7 separate regions of the Homo sapiens genome follow, and all the other regions are linked to region 2. The links are contacts of gene promoters, found by promoter capture Hi-C in human tissues and cell types (Jung and others, 2019). All regions are on one chromosome and are shown on one strand. The core of a region is centred on a gene start or on the middle of the fragment in contact, and the rest is flanking DNA. Distances in the headings are between cores, read along the strand shown.

Region 1 (2,707 bases), core at 91-2,590, 430 kb after region 2:
GCCTATTATCAATTTAAATAGGTCAGCCTCCATGACAAGGGAGAATACTCTAATATTTGTATTCTTCAAAACACATATTGTTACCTCTCCCCGCCTATCAGCTTACAATTGGTTGTTCAGTCCTCTAGGGTGCCATTAGCACTTATTTATGGCTCTTTCAGCACATATACTACAGTGAAATCCAACTCTTCTGCTAATTTGTGAGAGCATTCTTTCTATATCTGTGCACATCCTAGATTCTCAATTAAACATTTATTCAATTCACTGTACTTTCACTTATTTATGCTTTTTTGATGACCCCAACATAACTGTTCTTTTCTAGTCATGATAAATGATTAAATGATACTCAATGTTTCAAGAAATGACACTCAACGACTAAATGATATTCAATGTCTCACAAAACACTGAACCCACAAAGCTTTACAAATCCTACAAATCCATGCATCCAGCATCCTTGCTCATCTTCAGGAGGCAATTTCCAAGAAAAATGGGAGCTGGAAAGTTAGAGAAAGCTTATTAAGTTTATTAAGGCTCTGGCACTCATTTTCTATCGCATGGTACTGCATTTCTTTTCTTTTCTTTTTTTAAGACGGAGTCTTGCTCTTGTTGCCCAGACTGGAGGGCAATGGCGGGATTTCGGCTCACTGCAACCTCCACCTCTTGGATTCAAGCGATTCTCCTGTCTCAGCCTCCCGAGTAGCTGGGATTAAGGGCGCCCGCCTCCATGCCCAGCTAATTTTTTGTATTTTTAGTGGAGACGGGGTTTCATCATGTTGGCCAGGCTGGTCTCGAACTCCTGACCTCAGGTGATCCACCCGCCTCGGCCTCCCAAAATGCTGGGATTACAGGCGTGAGCCACCGTGCCTGGCCGGTACTGCATTTCTTTGAAGGGTACTGCATAGACAGGGCATCTCCAGACAGAAAAAGTCTAGCCTGGAAGCTACCTCTTCAAACACTGGGCCACCTTCATCCCTCTTTTCTGCCAGCTTTAAATAGACACGTGAAGGTTCCTAAACATAGAAGTCCTTGCCTACCTATCTGGATATCTTGAAGTGAAACACCAAGATAAAGAGAACAGTCAGCCCAAACAGCTCATTGGTCTATTACTACCTCAAGAACTGGCATATGAAAATTCAAATCAGGCCAGGCACGTTGGCTCAAGCCTGTAATCCCAGCACTTTGGGAAGCCGAGGCAGATGGGTCACCTGAGGTCAGGAGTTCGAGACCAGCCTGGCCAACATGGTGAAACTCCCCCTCTACTAAAAATACAAAACTTAGCCAGGCGTGGTGGTGGGCACCTGTAATCCCAGCTACTTGGGAGGCTGAGGCAAGAGAATCACTTGAACCCGGGAGGCGGAGGTTGCAGTGAGCCAAGATCGTGCCACTGCACTCCAGCCTGGACAACAAGAGGGAAACTCCTTCTCAAAAAAAAAGAAAATTCAAATGAGTAACACCAAGTAACAGTTTTATAAATTTAGTAGCACTGGAAAGACTGGATCAAGAGGGTTAGCTGAAAACCCACCACTGCCTCCTCCCTACTCCAATGATTAATAATGAGAACAGATTTTTATATAAAAGGACTATATAGAAAAACAAAAAGGGGTCTAATTGGTAGATGAGAATTAAAAGAATACCACAGTGAGACATTTCAAAATTTATTTATTTATAAGTGCCATGTAATAATTGTACATGTTTATAGGGTGCAGTGTAGTGTTTCAATGCATGTACACACTGTATAATGATCAAACTGGGGTAATTACCACACCCATTACTTTAAACATCATTTCTTTGTGGTGATAATATCGGAAATCTTCTCTTCTAGCTATCCTGAAATACGCACGACATTGTTATTTGCTATCGTCACCATAGTTTGTAATAGAACACCAGAACTTATTCATGTCTAACTTTTTCTTCTTTTAAAGAGATGGGGTCTCCCTGTGTTGCCCAAGTTGGCCTTGAACTCCTGGGTTCAGGCGATCCTCCTGCCTCAGATTCCCGAGTAGCTGGAACTGCAGCCCTGTGCCACCACAGTACCTGACTTAAATGAAACTTTGTACCCTTTAACTAACCTCTCCTGGTCCCCCTCTCCTTCCTACCATCTCTAGCCCCTGGTAACCACTATTCTACTCTCTACTTCTATAAAATCAATTTTTTTAGATTCTACTTATGAGTAAGATCATGTGATGTTTGTTCTGTGCCTGGCTTACTTCACTTAACATAATATTTATTGTCCAGGTTCATCCATGTCACCACAAATGGCAGGATTTCATTCTGTTTTACAGCTGAATAAAATTCCCATTGGTATATTTACATTTTTCTTATCCATTCATCTGTAGATAAGCATTGATTCCACATTTTTTCTACTGTGAATAGCACTGCAATTAACACAGATATGCAGAGGTCTCTTTGACACGCTGATTTCATTTCCTTTGGATATATACCCAGTAATGGGATTGCTGGATCATATGGTAGTTCTATTTTTAATTTTTTGAGGAACCTCCATAATGTTTCCATAATGGCTGTACCAATTTACATTCCCATCAACAGTGTGCAAGAGTTCCCTTTTCTCAGTATCCTCACCAGCATTTGCTAGTTTTTGTTTTTTTTTTTTTTTTAATGGCTAAGTTGGAAAGTGGCTCACCGTATGCTACACATTTCCACTATGTCGGATCTCACTTCTAGTTTCCAGCTGAGCCATCTGAGGTGA
Region 2 (2,897 bases), core at 18-2,517:
AACTTTGTAATCTGATTTTCCCATGTAACATTTTAATTTGATGGGTGGTCTGCGTGTTCACTGGAAAACATATATATATTAAATGTACATTTATGTATATATATAAAATATACATTCATATATATTATATATAATATACATTCATATATATTATATATAATATACATTCATATATCTATCTTTTATATATATATATAGACAAGATCTTGCTCTGTCGCCCAAGCTGGAGTGCAGTGGCATGACCACAGTTCACTGCAGCCTTGATTTCCTGGGCTCAAGCGATCCTCTCACCTCAGCCTCTTGAGTAGCTGGGACTATGGCACACACAACCACACGTGGTTCATTTTTTGTTGTTTTTTGTAGAGACAGGGTCTCACTCTGTTAACCCAGGCTGTTGTATTTTCTTTAAGATTGGTTTAAATTCACACGGACTCCAGCATCAGAACTACCCAGATGTCAGGTTCTGGGCAGAACTTGGGGCAACTGATGAAATGTCTGCTCAGCTGAAGTCAGACACCTGGACACTTAATGCCCTCTTTCCCTGGCTGATGCTCAGTTTCATTTAAGAACCAGGAGAGCCTGATGTTTGTAAACACAGCTTTAGTGGAAGCACGAGGGTTAGGAGTCCCTAGAAAGGTGATATGAAGCCTAGGTGGATGTGAGGGTTGGTGAGATGGGAATTGCACAGCATAGAATCTGACACAGAAGGTACTCAGAAAATTTCGTTTTCCGGCCTGGCGCGGTGGCTCACGCCTGTAATCCCAGCACTTTGGGAGGCTGAAGCGGGCAGATCATCTGAGGTCAGGAGTTCGAGACCAGCCTGGCCAACATGGTGAAACCCCGTCTCTACTAAAAATACTGTACTAAAAATACAAAAAAATTAGCTGGGCGTGGTGGCGGGCGCCTGTAATCCCAGCTACTCGGGAGGCTGAGGCAGAGAACTGATTGAACCTGGGAGGTGGAGGTTGCAGTGAGCCGAGATCACGCCACTGCACTTCAGCCTGGGTGACAGAGCGAGACTCCATCTCAAAAAAAAAAAAAAAAAAAAATTAGCAAGTTATTTGCAGCGTCTATCTCCCACCACCCTGACTGCTGGTCCACACCATACTGTCCCAAGCTTCTCAGGCTGCGGTGCAGACGAAGAAATCATCGCTATGCATGCTGGCCTTGGGATGGGGGCGCAAAGCCCCTGGACGCGCCCCGCCTAGTGGGCGGGAACGACTACAGCCCCCAGCATGACCCGCGGCCGCCCATGCCACGCCCCGCCACGCGTGCGCTTAGGCGCCGCTGAGCGCTGACTGGGTGCGAGTGGGGAAGCTGCTAACCCGACCCGGATTGGCGCTGAGGTGGCCCGTGGGGCAGGTGAGTGCGGGGCGGGAGTCAGCGGAGACCCACCGGCGCCTACAAGTTCCCCTCAGGCGGGGGCTGCGGGGCGGCTGTGGTCGGACTGTCCGACCGAGGGTCGTATGGGCCGAAGGCGCCCACGAGAGAAGCACCGCCTCGGGCCGGAGAGCCGCCGGGCCGACCTTGCTCGCGTCGCCGTTGGAATGGGGGCCGGGGACGCGGCGGGGCGGGGAGGTCGGCTGCGTCCTCCGGTGCGGCCGCCCCTAGACGGCCGAGGCCACCTCAGGTGTTCGGGGCGCCAGCCGGAATCCACCGCGCTGGCAGCCGGGAGCGGTTTTACGAAAACCGCGCCTGAGGCGGGGGGCTTTCTAAAAAGAGCCTGGCTGGCTCTGGCACCGGGACAGCTGCAGACTCCTCCTCAGGTTTAACTTGCGGTTTTCCCTTTAAGATTCAGATCCAGGTGCAGAACCCGGGCTCGGATCCAGGCCCGAGACTCGGAACACCGGTGTGTTTGCATTTTAGCACGGGGGAAACTGAGGCATACGTTAGCCAGAATCATCCGGTGTGGTTAGGACTGGAATTTTGAAAATTATTCTCATACTTAGTTTACTGACCTAGGCTCTTTTTTATTTGGAAAGAAAAATAAAGATGTTTCAAAGGTTGTTTTCAGTGACTGGGTGACTAGTGTATCTTCCAGTCTCACGCTGCACGTTTGTGGTGGGTTGATGGCTCTTTTTTGTTTTGCGGTGGGATAGAGATGTCCTGGAATGTTCTACACCTTTCTTATTCTTTCTTAGTAAATTCAAGTCAAATCAGACTCTGATTCACAAAAACTCATTTTCAACTTCGACTCGTTTACTCGTAGTTTTTGTGACAGGTTTGTGATTAGGTTTATAGGTACATATGTTTCCCGCTTTTCTTGCTCTTTTAGTTCCAATTATCTCTGCACTCTAAACAGTTGAATTACATCTTTGTTTTTACACTATTTCTGTTCTTGGTGATTAATTTGTAATTCTTCTTTTCTTTTCTTTTCTATTTTTTTTTTAAGACGGGAGTTTCGCTCTTGCCCGGGCTGGAGTGCAATGACATGATCTCGGCTCACTGCAAGCTCCGCCTCCCGGATTCAAGTGATTCTCCTGCCTCAGCCTACCGAGTAGCTGGGATTACAGGCGCCCGCCACCACGCCCGGCTAATTTGTGTATTTTTAATAGAGACGGGGTTTTTCGCCATGTTGGCCAGGCTGGTCTCGAACTCCTGACCACAGGTGATCCGCCCGTCTCGGGCCTCCCAAAGTGCTGGGATTACAGGCGTGAGCCACTGCGCCAGGCCCGATTAATTTGTAATTCTATAGATATCTTTCCTGGCTTTTGATAATCCTAAGTGAATGTAGCTTTTTCATCCCTAATTATCATAGTAGCCTGAGCTTTAGTTCTTCTCCCTGTCCCCCCCCCCTTTTTTTTTTTTTTTTTTTTTTGAGACGGAGTCTCGCTCTGTTGCCCAGGCTGGAGTGCAGTGGCGCGATCTCGGCTCACTGCAAGCTCTGCCTCCCGGGT
Region 3 (2,923 bases), core at 9-2,508, 390 kb after region 2:
AAAAAACCTCATCTAGTCTCTGTACTAGTTTCCAAGTAAACATCTCTGTATTAATCAAGATAAATCCAAGTCCAGACCTTGATAATAACAAGAATTCACAGTAAGCCTAAACTGTTCTTCCTGGTCAGTCTTCATAAAGGTAAAATGAAACAATTAATGCTATGTCTCATTATTATTATTATTTTTTTTTTTTTTTTGAGGCAGGGTCTCACTCTGTCGCCTAGCCCTATGTCTAATTTTTAAAGTACATTTAAAATTAGCCAGGCATGGTGGCTCATGTCTGTACTCCCAGCACTTTGGGAGGCCAAAGTGGGAGGATTGCTTCAGTCCAGGAGTTTGAGACCAGCCTGGGCAACATAGTAAGACCCTATCTCTACAAAAATAAATGAAATAAAATTAGATTTAATTTGTTTTTTTTTGAGACAGTCTCACTCTGTCACCCAGGCTGGAGTGCAGTGGCATGATCTCACTGCAGCCTCTGCCTCCTGGGTTCCAGTGATTCTCCTGCCTCAGCCTTCCGAGTAGCTGGGATTACAGGTGCCTGCCACCAAATCTGCCTAGTTTTTGTATTTTTAGTAGAAATGGGGTTTCTCCATGTTGGCCAGGCTGGTCTCAAACTCCTGGCCTAAAGTGATCCCCCAGCCTTGGCCTCCAAAATTGCTGGGATTACAGGCGTGAGCCACCATGCCGGTTTTTTTGTTTTTGTTTTCTTTTTTTTTGAGACAGGGTCTCGTTCTGTCGCCCAGGCTGGAGTGCGGTGGTGCGACCATGGCTCATTGCAACCTCTGCCTCCTGGGTTCAGATGTTCCTCCCACCTCAGCCTCGCAAGTAGCTGGGACTATAGGCGTGCACTACCATGGCTGGCTAATTTTTGTATTTTTTGTAGAGGCAGAGTTTTGCCATGTTGGCCAGGCTGGTCTCAAACTCCTGGGCTCACGTGATCCACCAGCCTTGGCATCCCAACGTGCTAGGGTTACAGGCATGAGCCATGACACCCGGCCTACATTTTAAATTCTTAGAGTACAAGCACCTTATCTTCTTTCCCAAGTCTACATGTAGACATAACTGCTAAGTAGAATGGGGGTCCTAATCACCCCTCCTCCCTTGTTGAAGGCCCTCTGTGACCTGATGCTGTTTCTTCTCCTCCGCTTCAATATTTGTTCAACCCAGAGGTCCAGGTTGGAAAGCTTCTGGATCTAATTCAAACCAATGCACAAATAATAAAGTATCATCCTCTTCCTACTTTGCATATGCTATTTATTTCCTGTCGAGGTCCTCCACCCACTGCTTGGTGTATTTCTAGTTCAAATGTCACCGCCTGGCCCCACAGTTCAATACAGAGTTAGGTCCCACTTCCTCATGCTCTCAAAGCAACTCCTGAACATTTACAGCACATTTCTCATCAGAACTCATCAGCGGTACAATTTTAAGTTGTTTTTGTCTGACTCCCACGCTGAACAATGACATACATGAGGGCAGAGACTATTATTCATCTGTATAATCCCAGCAATCTGCATAGTGTTTGGATATGGCAGATAATCAAAAATGATTTCTTAAATGAATATAACCTTATTCTTAGAATAGGAATTTGCAATTTAAGAAGGTCCTCCATATGACACCCACACAGGGAACCACCTGCTGGATTGGCCATCCAATTTGCCAATGGGTTCTATAGAAACCACAGCAAAACAAGAATGAGGTGCACGTGACACAATTACATCAATAGTGCCCTTAGGGTAGATCATTTTGGTGACTCCAATTAAAGAATAAATGAAGATAAATAAATAAATACATTTCTAATTAAAGAAATAAATGAAGGTTACTTTTTTTTTGCGGGGGATGGAGTCTTGCTGTCACCCATGCTGGAGTGCAGTGGCATGATCTCGGCTCACTGCAGCCTCTGCCTCCTTGGTTCAAGCTATCCTCCCGCCTCAGCCTCCCAAGTAGCTGGGATTACAGGCGCCTGCCACCACACCGCTAATTTTTCTATTTTTAGTAGAGACAGGGTTTCACCATGTTGGTTGGGCTGGTCTTGAACTCCTGACCTCAGGTGATCTACCCACCTTGGCCTTCCAAAGTGCTGGGATTACAGGCGTGAGCCACTGCACCCGGCCTAGATGGCTTACTTTTAAGGACATCTGAAGAATGTAGTATGGCAGGGTAAAAAGAGCCTCAACTAGGAATCCCTACCCCTATTCATGAGGTGTGTGACTATAGATAAATTACCCTTTAAGCTTCAACTACTTCACCTGTTAATGGGAATAAACCCCATACGCTGGAGTTGTTACAAGGATATCAAGATGTACATAGGCCGGGCGCGGTGGCTCAAGCCTGTAATCCCAGCACTTTGGGAGGCCGAGGCGGGCGAATCATGAAGTCAGGAGTTCGAGACCATGATGTTCGAGACCAGGAGTTCGAGACTGGCTAACATGGTGAAGCCCCATCTCTACTAAAAATAGAAATAAATTAGCCGGGCGTGGTGGTGGGCACCTGTAGTCCCAGCTACTCAGAAGGCTGAGGCAGGAGAATGGCTTGAACCCGGGAGGCGGAGCTTGCAGTGAGCCGAGATCGCACCACTGCACTCCAGCCTGTGTGACAGAGCGAGACTCTGTCTCAAAGAAAAAAACAAAAGATGTATGTAAATTAATTGTGACTAGCATTTAGTGGGCATTCAATTTCTTGTATAGAAGTTTCAGTACCCACTCTCATGCTCTGTAACTAGTTTCAAACAGAGTTCTCCTTCCTTTTCAATGTCATTACAGACTGAATCCATTTGCTGGGTCCCACAGTTCACTGTCCAGTATGTACTTGCCACACATTTTTTGAACATCTCTTTTGAGTGTTGTGGTAGGCACTGGTCTCTCCCTTTCCTTGACTCTCATACCAACTCCTAATTTCTTTTTCACTCTGTCTTTAAATAGTA
Region 4 (2,936 bases), core at 234-2,733, 430 kb before region 2:
TTCCAACTTTGAGAATCTAGGATAGGGGCACTATTTAATCAAAACTGGCAAGTAAAAAGAAAGAGAACTATTTTAAACAAGACAAATACAAGAGGTGTTGAACCAAACTCAAATTAGAAAGAACAAAATTTCCCAAAAATAAGAATATTATAATTCATTTGATGAAAGGAATTTGCCATATTATCCCTTTTACTGGCATTTTTTTAGTACCTTTACTTGTAAAAATGTCAGGCCCTCCCACTTTTCTGGGATAGACTTATCGAATGAAGCAAGGGGAGCTTCTCTATGGATAGATGATCACTTTTGCAAGCTTTGAGATCAGTGAGCTGAAAAAATGACCAGCATTCCAACAACAAATGAGGGCTTGGGAGCGTAAGTAAAAGTGACAGCAAGATTAAAGTAATTGTGGTCATGCCGTCCTCTGCTGACACTTTTGTGTTTTGCCCAGATGAGAATTAAGGTAGCCCAGGGCACAGGCAGTGAGGAAAAGGAGAGGGGCGCTGAGCGTATTTGCAGCATTTGTGAACCATGTCACAGCCCTGGCGAAAACAGAGCAAGAAGATGGAGGCTTTCAAATCCATGATAAATAAGCCATGCTTTCAGAGCCCAAATCAGTAAAAACAAACATTAAGTGAACAGAAGGGAAGAGGGAAAAAAAGAGAACATGAGGCCACCATAAAATCCTGGTGATATATTCCAGGGGAAATCATGATGTGAATAGAAAATGAGAAGTAAAAGAAAATGAAGCCTGGAGATTTGTAAAATGTCTGTCTGTCTGTCTGTCTCTCTCGACTGTCATTCCCATCTACCCCTGCCACCCCCACCCCGCCCTCCACCCTTCTGATGGGGTTCATTAGATGATTTCTGATTCAGGGGTGGGGGGCGGTATTTTTAATGCTTCACTTATGTTTGGGTTTTGCCAGCAGGATCCGAGGTGTTTCTGTAGACAATTGTTATTGCTTTAGGAAACAATAAGAATAAAATGAGGAAACATCAAGTGATACATCAGTCTAGCAGCAGAGTGAGGCTCGAAGTAGCATTTCCAGCGAGGTTGGTGGTCTCTTTTTGCCTTATTTTTGTTGTTTTGGATTGATGTTTTCATGGTGTCATTTTAATAAGAAAAGTGTCAGAGAATTAAAAGTGGAAGTATGCGAGATACACTTTCTCTAACTGGATTCATGGTAAGTTATTAATGTTTCAAGGAGAAAGAAAAGAACTTGGAAAAAGCAGAATATATTGTGGGGAAAGTTGATGAAGGGAAAGGTAAGAGAACTGTGACAAATGAGACACAGACAGAAGGAGAGAGAGAGAAAGAGGAAGAGAGAGAGACAGGGTGGTGGGGGGGACCGGCAGAAGAAAAGGAAAAGAGCGACAGTTTGTAAGTCTATTAGCTGAGATTGTTTCCATTTCTGCAATTGCCTTAAAGCGCATGATTGCTTGGTCTGAGGTCTGCCAGGTCGATTGCAGTCTTTACCTCTTTGACCAAGAAGTAATGGGCTTGAATTTCCTGGGTATGTGAAAATTGCTCTTGAATGTTTTGGCTAAAGGACAGCCACCCAGGAAGGTTGAGAGGGCCTAAGCTAGTGAGCAGTCATCCTGACCAAGTAGGAGGGATTTGGTTATGTTGCTCGTAGCAGGAGAGGCAGAGCAGCAAAGTGAAGAGAACACACAGCCTTAGGTGCCAACAGACATGTACTGAAATCTCTTGCCTCCATTTCCCACCTCTAAAATGCAAAGGATGATAGTAACAATAATAAATGTTGCAACGGGTGACCGATTATAAAGTTCTTGTCACCTGATAGACCATATCAATCCATGGTAACTTATTCTTAGCTGGTTCACGTTTCTAGGCATTGGCACAGTCTGGGTGGTGTGTGTCCCCTCAAAGGTAGCATCACAGTGACTGAGCTCTGCATAGATGGCAAAGTGTAGAAGCCTGGTCAGTTTTCTGTTTCTCCATCCACCATTTCTCCCCACTTCCCCTTGGTTAGTGCTGTCTTCTCTCTTTCCTCACTGAATTGTCTTGATTAGTGTCATACTTTCTGATAACACTGCAGCTAGGACTCCACAGGCAATAGGGAGAAGCTAGCGCCTGCCCAGGGAAAGTGAGGAAAAATAGGTGCTTGAGAGGCTGAAAAGTAGTATACGCTTGGTGGCCTTACACTTTGTAGAAACAGTTTTGGATTTGTCTCTACAAGAAAGGATTGTAGATAACCAGAATGCAAAAATGCTTTGAAGAAAGAGACATTGAGCATTGGAACCAAGTATTCTACGTCCTCTTCCCTGCAACACTGGGGACTAAGGATTATTATCTGCATTTCTGGTGAAGAAACTGAGGCACAGAGAAGATAAACTATGGTTCTCCGGCTACAAAGTAAGCAGCAGAGCCTAGAGTTTGAAGCCAGGTCTGACACCTAAGTCCCGTAGTAAACCTCCCACTGAGGTAGGCAAGCCTCGCCTTGCAGAGAGTGGCAAATTAGGGAAAAAAGAATCAAATGTGCTTGAGTTTAACAGAACATATACATTATACTTAAAGAGAAAGATACTTTTCTTACAAAAAGTTTGAGGACAAATGAGACTTCATGTGATGCGTCTTGCACTAAAAAAAAAAAGTTAGATTATATAAGCCAGACTGGCGTTGATTAAAGAAGAGCAAGGTAATAAATACGCATAAGAAGAAGGAAGTGGCTGGCTCTACCTTGGGCATCACCCAAGTTACAGGCAGGGGAGGGGATAGGCCCTGCATGGGGACAGTCTCCTGACTTGTCTTCTTCCTTCTCTACTTCCCTCCCTTCACTACCCCTCCCTCCAAAACCCAAAAAACCTTAAGCAGGAAAAAAGGGAGCTAATTAAAAAAGAGAAAAACATCCTTGAGACCAATGAAGTCTCCATAATCCACAGTGACAGACAGGGACCTGCAGAACAGCAATTTGATT
Region 5 (2,898 bases), core at 170-2,669, 340 kb after region 2:
CACAGGTGAGCCTGGGCCCCACACTTGGCTCCCCACGGCCACAGGGCATCCTGAAATCCCTCCAGGATCTGACCAGGGGACTTGCAAGAGCTGAAGGGCCTTGAGATTCCCAGAGTGTCAGGGCAGGAAAAAGAGACCAGTATATGTGCAGACCTCACAACAGGAACTCAGCCATGAGGACTCACCGGGCAGGGAGTGTCAGCAGGGCACTCCAAAAGGCCCACATGGGGGCTGGGCACAGTGGCTCACGCCTGTAATGCCAGCACTTTAGGAGGCTGAGGCAGAAGGATCGCTTGAGCTCAGGAGTTCAAGACCAGCCTGGACAACATAGTGAGAGCCAACCCCTACAAACAAATTTTTTTTTTTTTTTTTAGACAGAGTTTTGCTCTTATTGCCCAGGCTGGAGTGTAATGGGGCAATCTTGGCTCACTGTAACCTTCGCCTTCTGGGTTCAAGCAATTCTCCTGCCTCAGCCTCCTGGGTAGCTAGGATTACAGGCATGCGCCACCACGCCCGGCTAATTTTTTATTTTTAGTAGAGATGGGGTTTCACCAGATTAGCCAGGCTAGTCTTGAACTGCTGACCTCAGGTGATCCACCCACCTCGGCCTCCCAAAGTGCTGGGATTACAGGCATGAGCCACCACACCCAGCCTCCAAAAAAAATTTTTTTTAATTAGCTGAATGTGAAAAAAAAATTAGCTGAATGTGGTGGCGTGTGGCGTGTGGCTGTGGTCCCAGCTACTTGGGAGGCTGAGGCAGGAGGATCACTTGAACCCAGGATACTGAGGTCACAGTGAGCTATGATCGTACTACTGCACTGTAGCCTGGGTGACAGAGCGAGACTCCATCTCAAACAAAACAGAACAAAAAAACCAAGTATTTACAGAGACATGAGTCATCGAGAGGCTATCTAAACCGAGATAAGCTGCAGTGCAGTGATGACAGTTTCTTTCCACTTCCCCGGAGGGGCTCATGGCTCAGCAGATCAGCTGCAGGAAAGAGAGAAACATCGTCTCTCCGTGCGCCTTTCCTTGTATATTAATCTGCGATCCTGCTACACATGCCACTGTCAGTCAGGCCATGCTACGAAGCCTGGGGAGAACAGGGCAAGATTTCCGAGGCCTGGCCGGAGGCAACAGGCACATAGAAAAGGGGTATGGGGTCCGGAAGGTGCAGAGTAAATGTGTGCGTGGGGCAAGATTCCCCCAGGGATGGCTACAGGCACAGTTGCCTCTAGGATGGGATGTAGAGAAATCAAATTCAAGGGTACAAGTAAATATCTTTATATACCCTGGGGGCGACAGAAGGAAGCTTTTTGTGGGAGAACCCAGAAAAGAGAGCTCAGAAGGAGAAAAGTCTCCTAAGCTGCTGGGTAGAGACGGGCTGTTTGAGGTTTTTTTTTTTTTTTTTGAGACAAAGTCTTGCTCTATCACCCAGGCTGGAGTGCAGTGGCACGATCTCTGCTCACTGCAATCTCTGCCTCCCAGGTTCAAGTGATTCTCTTGCCTCAGCCTCCCGAGTAGCTACAGTTACAGGAGTTGGCCGCCATACTCGGGTAATTTTTTTGTACTTTTAGTAGAGATGGGATTTCATCACATTAGCCAGGCTGGTCTCGAACTCCTGACCTCAAGTGATCCTTACACCCCGGCCTCCCAAAGTGTGAGAATTACAGGTATGAGCCACTGCGCCTGGCCTGGGCTGGTTGAGTTTAATACAAAAGTCAAGGATCCTTCTCCTCGGTTCACTTAGTCCTCCCCACGGCCCTCGGCGTTTGGCATTCTCTCTTTTTTTCTTTTTCTTTTTTTTTTTTTTTTTGAGACAGGGTCTTGCTCTGTTGCCCAGGCTGGATTGGAGTACAGTTCGTCATCATGGCTTACTACCTCCCCGGCTCAAGTGATCCTCCCACCTCGGCCTCCTGAGTAGCCAGGACCACAGGCATGTGCCACCATGTCTGGCTAATTTTGTTTATTTTTTTGTAGAGATGTGGTCTTGCCATGTTGCCCAGGCTGTCCTCGAACTCCTGGGCTCAAGGAGTTCCACCCACCTCAGTCTCCCAAAGTGCTGGGATTATAGGCGTGAGCCACCACCCCTGGCAGTCCTCAGCATTCTTCAAACAAAACTAGGGCTGGGCATGGTGGCTCATGCCTGTAATCCCAGCTCTTTGGGAGGCTGAGGTGGGAGGATCTCTTGAGCCCAGGAGTTCAAGACTAGCCTCGGCAACATAGTGAGACCCTGTCTTTACAAGAACAAAACACAAAACAACAGAGTCGCTGTTTTCCCTCAATTCTATAGCAAGGACGAAATCAGGGAGTCCACAGGGCGCATGGATTTGAACCTGGGTCTATCTGGCTCCGCACTATGCTTTCCCTGCTATATCCCACTACCTGATTGAAGGAGAGAGATGGGACTTCTGAGGACAAGGGAACCTTCAGGTGAGGCTGGAGGTCAAGTCCCTAAAGACTTCCTTGCTTAGGGGGAGATTTAATGATTGGCCGCCATCATCTCAAGAGAAGAGACGATCCCTCTCCTGCCTGGTTTGCTTGACCGAACAACCTCACTGTGGAAGGTAGTGGTGAAGGGACACCACCTTGAGATGAGGTGGACCTGGGTTCATATTCCTGCACTGAGATCTTAGGCAAAACACTTAAGCTTGTGGAGCCTTAGATTTCATTCTTATAAAAATGGGATAACAATTTCCACCTTACTAAGCCGTGAAAAGCATTACATGAAGGGGAATGTAAATTGTGTGCCTACCACAGAGCCCGATACAGAGAACAGGTGAAAAGAACTGAATTTAACTCTACCTACCCATCTGTCATCCCTCCTGCAGCTCTATTCCGATCGGCATTTTCTTTTTCTTTTTCTTTTTTTTTGAGATGGAGTCTTGCTCTTGTCGC
Region 6 (2,751 bases), core at 241-2,740, 410 kb after region 2:
TGGGTATGCACTTCTGGAAAATATGTGCAATGACCATGGATATAAGAAAATGGCAAAACAAAGGCACAAATCTAACAAATCTCACTTGACTCCGTAGGAAGGAATGAAACTTTACACACAACAGGAACAAACCTGTCTTGCCAGATTTAAGGCCAGAGGGCAGGAAATACATTTTGAACTATCACAACAATGATAATACCTTTGGCATTCAGTAAGAGTTATTGCTAAAAATTCCAATTTCATAAAAATAAGTGTCTCTTCATTTATCTGTTAAGGTTCTGTTCCCACATTATTCCCCAAGATATGAAGCTTTATAGGCTTGTTTTTCTGGGAAAATACAATAAATAATAAATTTCTAAGTTTCAAGAAGAATTTGAAGAGCAACAACGCTGTTCCTAGTTCTCCTTAGAGATGATACAACTCATTTCTACAGTGATTATAATACTCACAGCAGGAAGAAAGCTGTTATAATTATTATAAAAATATGTACATATTAAGATATAAAAACTTGTTATGAAGAGAAGTTTAAAACTCACAAAAGTAATTTTCAAGGAACTCTCAACCTTCAGAAAAAGAGAAGACCTACAATCAGAGAATCTCACAATTAACAAAGGATTGTAAAATTCTTTAACCCAGAGTCTCCCAACTGTGACAGTACTAATATTTTGGGGTGGAAAATTATTTGTTGTGTGTGTATGTGGGCTCTTGTGTAGGATGATTAGCAGTCTCCCTGGCCTCTACCCACTAGATGCCACATTTGACCCTGTGGGTCAAAATCAGCCTCAGTGGAGAACCACTAATCTAATCCAATCACCAAGTGATTATTCCTTTTATTCTTTACAATTTCAAAACACAGGAATTCACTTTCACACCTGTTTTATTCCATTAGCTGTTACAATTATTTATTTTATTTTATTTTGTTTTTTTGAGACATGGTCTTGCTGCAGCCTCCTACTCCTGGGCTTAAGTGATCCTCCCTCCTTAGCCTCCCAAGTAGCTGGGATTACAGGCACATGCCGGCTAATTTATTTTTAATTTTTTACCATTCCCAGCACTGAAGTTAAAATATGTAGAGACAGCTTTAACTTGACTTAACACCATACTATCTAAAATGGTACCTCTTTTTTTCTTTTTTGGAGATGGAGTCTCGCTCTATCTCCCAGGCTGGAGTGCAGTGGCTCGATCTCCGCTCACTGCAACCTCCGCCTCCTGGGTTCAAGTGATTCTCCTACCTCAGCCTCCCAAGTAGCTGGGATGATAGGTGCCCGCTACCACACCCAGTTAATTTTTGTATTTTTAGTAGACAGGGGGTTTCGCCATGTTGGCCAGGTTGGTCTCAAACTCCTGACCTCGGTAATCCACCTGCCTCGGCCTCTCAAAGTGTTGGGATTACAGGCATGAGCCACCGCGCCCGGCCAATGGTACCTCTTTCTAACCCTCAGTACTCTCTATCCCTTCTCTGCTTAAATTTTGTCTGTAACCTTATCCTCTAACATACTATGTATTTTCCTTGTTTATTGTCTATCTTACAATATTAGATTGTAAGCTTCATGAGGACAGAGATTTTCATTTTTTATTTACTGCCATATCCTTAGCATCTAGAACTGGATTTAGCACATACTAGACACCCAATATATATTTGATGAACAAACCATGATGAATAAATGGCTTGTGGGAAAGGGTATATACTTTTTCTTTATTGTCCAAGCGAACTAGGCCAGGATCACAATATATTTACTTATCCTAAAGTATACAAAAAGTCACTTTGGAATTGCTAACTCATACGTTTGCAGGGGGAGAAAACATATGTACTAAGTTTCATCTTTGTTTCTAGTTGCTTTAAGAAGGTAGATTTAATATCAATAAAAATAAATATTCTTTTTATTTTTTAAAATAAATATTCAGCTGGGAGCAGTGGCTAATACCTGTAATCCTAGCACTTTGGAAGGTCGAGGCAGAAGAATCTCTTGAGGCCAGGGGTTTGAAACCAGCCTGGGCAACACAGAAAGACCCCCATCTGTACAAAAAATAAAAAAAAATTAGCTGGGTGTGGTGGCATCCCTGTAGTCCTAGCTACTGGGGAGGCCGAGGCAGGGGGATCTCTTGAGCCCAGGAGTTGGAGGCTGCAGTGAACTATGACTGCACCACTGTACTCCAGTGCCCGGATGACAGAGCAAGACCCTATCTCAACAACAACAAAAAAAAAAAAAAAAAAAAAGAAAAGGAAAAAAAATAACCTTGAAGGTTTCTCAGTATATAGTGAACTATAACCTACCTGGATCTTGTGCCAATCATAGAGTTTCAGCCAATCACAGGCAGCCAACTGTTCAAATAAGGTAAACAAGTGGTAACTAATCTGGCTGTTTCTGTACCTCACTTCTGACTTCTATATGTCACTTTCCTTTTTCTGTCCATAAATATTCTACCATGTGACAGCTCCAGAGTCACTCTGACCTTCTGGTTCTGAGGGCTGCCCAATTTGCGAATTGTTCTTTGCTTGATCAAACTCTGTTAGGCCAGGCATGGTGGCTCACGCCTGTAATCCCAACACTTTAGGAGGCTGACGCAGGTGGATCACCTTAGGTCAGGAGTTCGAGATCAGCCTGGCCAACAGAGTGAAACCCCGTCTCTACTAAAAATACAAAAATTAGCTGGGCATGATGGCTTGCGCCTGTAGTCCCAGCTACTTGGGAGGCTGAGACAGGAAAATCTCTTGAACCTGGGAGGCGGAGGTTGCAGTGAGCGGAGATC
Region 7 (2,863 bases), core at 172-2,671, 300 kb before region 2:
GTTAACTGTATAGTTTCACAGTTCCTTTATAGTGAATAGTGAACCTTATAGTAGATAGAGTGGATACTCTTTTACTTACGTGGTTTGTTCTTTTGTTTTGTTTTGTTTTTTGAGATGGAGTCTTACTCTGCTGCCCAGGCTGGAGTGCAGTGGCGCAATCTCGGGTCACTACAACCTCCGCCTCCTGGGTTCAGGTGATTGTCCTGCCTCAGCCTCCTGAGTAGCTGGGACTACAGGCACGCGCCACCATGCCCAGCCAATTTTTGTGTTTTTAATAGAGACGAGGTCTCACCATGTTGGCCAGGCTGGTCTCGAACTCCTAGCCTCAGGTGATCCTCCTGCCTTGGCCTCCTGAAGTGCTGGGATTACAGGCGTGAGCCACCGCGCCTGGCCTCTTGGTTTGTTCTTTATCTGGATGTTCTTGTTTAGTATCTTAGTAACTTTTCGTTGTCTTGTTTTCTTTTCATTTTCTTTCAATTCTGTGTTTTGTTTAAGTAAAAGGAAGGTTACAACAGGAAAATCTTCTTTTATTTTTTATTTCTACAGATGAGGTCTCGCCGTGTTGCCCAGGCTGGTCTCAAACTCCTGGCCTGAAGTAGTCCTCCCTGCCTCAGCCTCCTAAAATGCTGGGATTACAGGAATGAACCATTGCACCTTGCCAGATTTTTCTTTTAAATCCATATATATGAGGTGGACTTTTTACCTTGAAATTTGCATTGAAATTTTTAATTTTTATTTTTGATTAATTTAGAATTCCATACATACTATTTTTATGACCACATATTTTTCATGGAGAGTAAAAACCACACTTTAGTAAACAATAGTGTAAAGGTAGCATTATCCTTTGTTTCCAGGACCTAGCCACAAATTTGCTATGAAAGTTTTTTGTTTTTGAGACAGTATCTCGCTGTCTCGCCCAGGCTGTAGTGCAGGTACAATCATGCCCCACTGCATGCAGCCTCAAATTCGTGGGCTCAAGCAGCCCTCGCACCTCAGCCTCCTGAGTAGTTGGGATCACAGGTGCACACTACCAGGTTGACTGATATAAAATTTTTTTTTTTTGTAGAGCTGGGGTCTCCCTATGTTGTCCAGGCTGATCTCAAACTCCTGGGCTCAAGGGATCCTCCTACCTCACCCTCCCAAAGTGCTGGGATTACAGGTGTGAACTACTGCACCTGGCCTAAAAGTTGTTTTAAGGAATATTTTGTGTTATTTTTCAGTCTTTAGTTTCTTTGAGTATAACTTTGTAAGAGCTTTTTTTTTTTAATTTTTTTTTTTTTGAGATGGAGTTTCGCTCTCATTGCCCCAGCTGGAGTGCAATGGCGTGATCTCGGCTCACCGCAACCTCCGCCTCCTAGGTTCAGGCGATTCTCCTGCCTCAGCCTCCAGAGTATCTGGGATTACAGGCATGTGCCACCATGTCTGGCTAATTTTGTATTTTTAGTAGAGATGGGGTTTCTCCATGTTGGTCAGGCTGGTCTTGAACTCCCAACCTCAGGTGATCCACCCACCTCGGCCTCCCAAAAGTGCTGGGATTACAGGCCTGAGGCACTGCGCCCGGCCGAGAGCTTCTTTTAGACAGAAATAATTAGGGGTTCTTTTCTATACCACACATTTATTAAAAGAGATTTTCACGGCTATCAGTTATGAAATGAGGTTCCTATTTGGCTGGAGTGTTTCTGGCATGTTAGTTGTGTTGTAGGAGGTGGGGAGTTGGGAGGATTGGTGTATATTAAAAGAAAAAATTTTAACTAATTATGTTTTATGTAGGTACAAGTGTTGTATTTATGTTTATTAAAGTGTTCATTCTGTGCCTATTTTTTCGTATCTTCTAAAATACCCTTCATTGTAATTAATTATAGGTTGTTAGTTTTATGTCTTAGTTCTTGCTTTAATCTGGCTTTATAGTTTTTTTCTCTAAGAGAGACATTTGAGTTTTGCGTGTTCCGTGTGCCTTTGTCATTTATTCGTATAATAAAATCGATAAGTAACTGGGCTAAAGTATATAATTTTCATTTCTTGTAGCTGTTCTATTACTTGACTTTTATTTTGTGATTTAGTAACTTCTTGGATTTTGTGACTTTTTATTTGATTTGATTCTTTTAATGACTTAAATTGGGATTTATTAACTTTTGAAATTAATGTTCTTTGATACATCAGAAAATCTCATGCTGTTTTTCTTTAAACATAAAAAGAAAGGGTGAAGCTCGTTGACAGAGATCTGCTTTTTTAACTTTGTCTTCACTCCATTCTGATACCATCTGCTAAAGGCTGATTTCAGTGTTTCCTTCAGAAAGAAGTTAAAATAAGACTTAATGTTGAAGTGGAATAAAATATTGTAACTAATAATACAGTTATATCTTTATAGATATTCAAAGTAGAATATTTTAAGTTTGAGGAAAAGAATTAGTTCAAATTAATTTACAGGTATTTTAAGAAAAAAATGGTATATTTCAGGAAGGTTGACAGGATCATTTTAATAAAAACTCATTTTTAGGTTCACAATTCCTTATCAGAAACTCTTAAGGGCCAGATGTATTTTATAGCTCAGATTTTTTTTTTTTTGAAAACTAATAAGATGCACTTACCATATGTTATACAATGCCCCTGCAGGGTCAGAGGCAGCACTTCAGAGTCAAATACATTAGTATTTCAGCAGCCAAAGCTATGACTAAAGTCTAAAGTGGGTAGACTATAAATAGTTTCATGTCAGTTCAGGTCAGACCTTGCCACCAATTAAATTCCCATCAGGTTTCACCACCAATGAATTCCAGAAAAGTTTTGGTTTTCAGAAGTTTTTGGATTTTGGAATTGTGGGTAAGGGACTGTAGACTATTTACTTTCTTAGCTCTAATGTTTGCTA

The links. Contacts are between HindIII fragments. The study calls those that stand out against the background at their distance.
Region 1: a fragment that was not itself captured here is called in contact with the fragment with the promoter of SGSM3 in region 2 in 1 of the 25 tissues and cell types used here (mesenchymal stem cells).
Region 3: a contact is called between a fragment that was not itself captured here and the fragment with the promoter of SGSM3 in region 2, in 2 of the 25 tissues and cell types used here (aorta and dorsolateral prefrontal cortex).
Region 4: a contact is called between a fragment that was not itself captured here and the fragment with the promoter of SGSM3 in region 2, in 1 of the 25 tissues and cell types used here (dorsolateral prefrontal cortex).
Region 5: a contact is called between a fragment that was not itself captured here and the fragment with the promoter of SGSM3 in region 2, in 1 of the 25 tissues and cell types used here (dorsolateral prefrontal cortex).
Region 6: a fragment that was not itself captured here is called in contact with the fragment with the promoter of SGSM3 in region 2 in 1 of the 25 tissues and cell types used here (dorsolateral prefrontal cortex).
Region 7: a fragment that was not itself captured here is called in contact with the fragment with the promoter of SGSM3 in region 2 in 1 of the 25 tissues and cell types used here (pancreas).

Annotation. Positions count from the first base shown.
Region 1 is chr22:40,801,222-40,803,928 of GRCh38, forward strand. All of the region lies in intron 1 of SLC25A17 (solute carrier family 25 member 17), which reads right to left. Among named protein-coding and RNA genes, the nearest start is that of MIR4766, 11 kb to the right of the region's middle. The HindIII fragment of the contact is 6,915 bases long and covers 1-2,707 here.
Region 2 is chr22:40,369,327-40,372,223 of GRCh38, forward strand. SGSM3 (small G protein signaling modulator 3) reads left to right here and starts at 1,268. Exons shown (of 22, transcript NM_015705.6): 1 at 1,268-1,362. It overlaps ADSL (adenylosuccinate lyase), which reads left to right. Exons shown (of 13, transcript NM_000026.4): 13 at 1-41. RefSeq lists an enhancer at 954-1,163 and silencers at 1,314-1,423, 1,484-1,653. The HindIII fragment of the contact is 4,461 bases long and covers 1-2,897 here.
Region 3 is chr22:40,763,581-40,766,503 of GRCh38, forward strand. No RefSeq gene overlaps it. Among named protein-coding and RNA genes, the nearest start is that of MIR4766, 49 kb to the right of the region's middle. RefSeq lists a silencer at 1,418-1,517. The HindIII fragment of the contact is 4,442 bases long and covers 1-2,923 here.
Region 4 is chr22:39,935,381-39,938,316 of GRCh38, forward strand. The region is part of intron 1 of GRAP2 (GRB2 related adaptor protein 2); the gene reads left to right. Among named protein-coding and RNA genes, the nearest start is that of TMA7B, 24 kb to the right of the region's middle. The HindIII fragment of the contact is 9,705 bases long and covers 1-2,936 here.
Region 5 is chr22:40,710,811-40,713,708 of GRCh38, forward strand. No RefSeq gene overlaps it. Among named protein-coding and RNA genes, the nearest start is that of MCHR1, 33 kb to the left of the region's middle. RefSeq lists enhancers at 795-1,089, 1,113-1,629, 2,593-2,898 and a silencer at 903-1,022. The HindIII fragment of the contact is 3,262 bases long and covers 1-2,898 here.
Region 6 is chr22:40,782,588-40,785,338 of GRCh38, forward strand. All of the region lies in intron 4 of SLC25A17 (solute carrier family 25 member 17), which reads right to left. Among named protein-coding and RNA genes, the nearest start is that of MIR4766, 30 kb to the right of the region's middle. The HindIII fragment of the contact is 3,487 bases long and covers 1-2,751 here.
Region 7 is chr22:40,068,225-40,071,087 of GRCh38, forward strand. It overlaps a transcript of TNRC6B not described here. Among named protein-coding and RNA genes, the nearest start is that of TNRC6B-DT, 25 kb to the left of the region's middle. The HindIII fragment of the contact is 5,633 bases long and covers 1-2,863 here.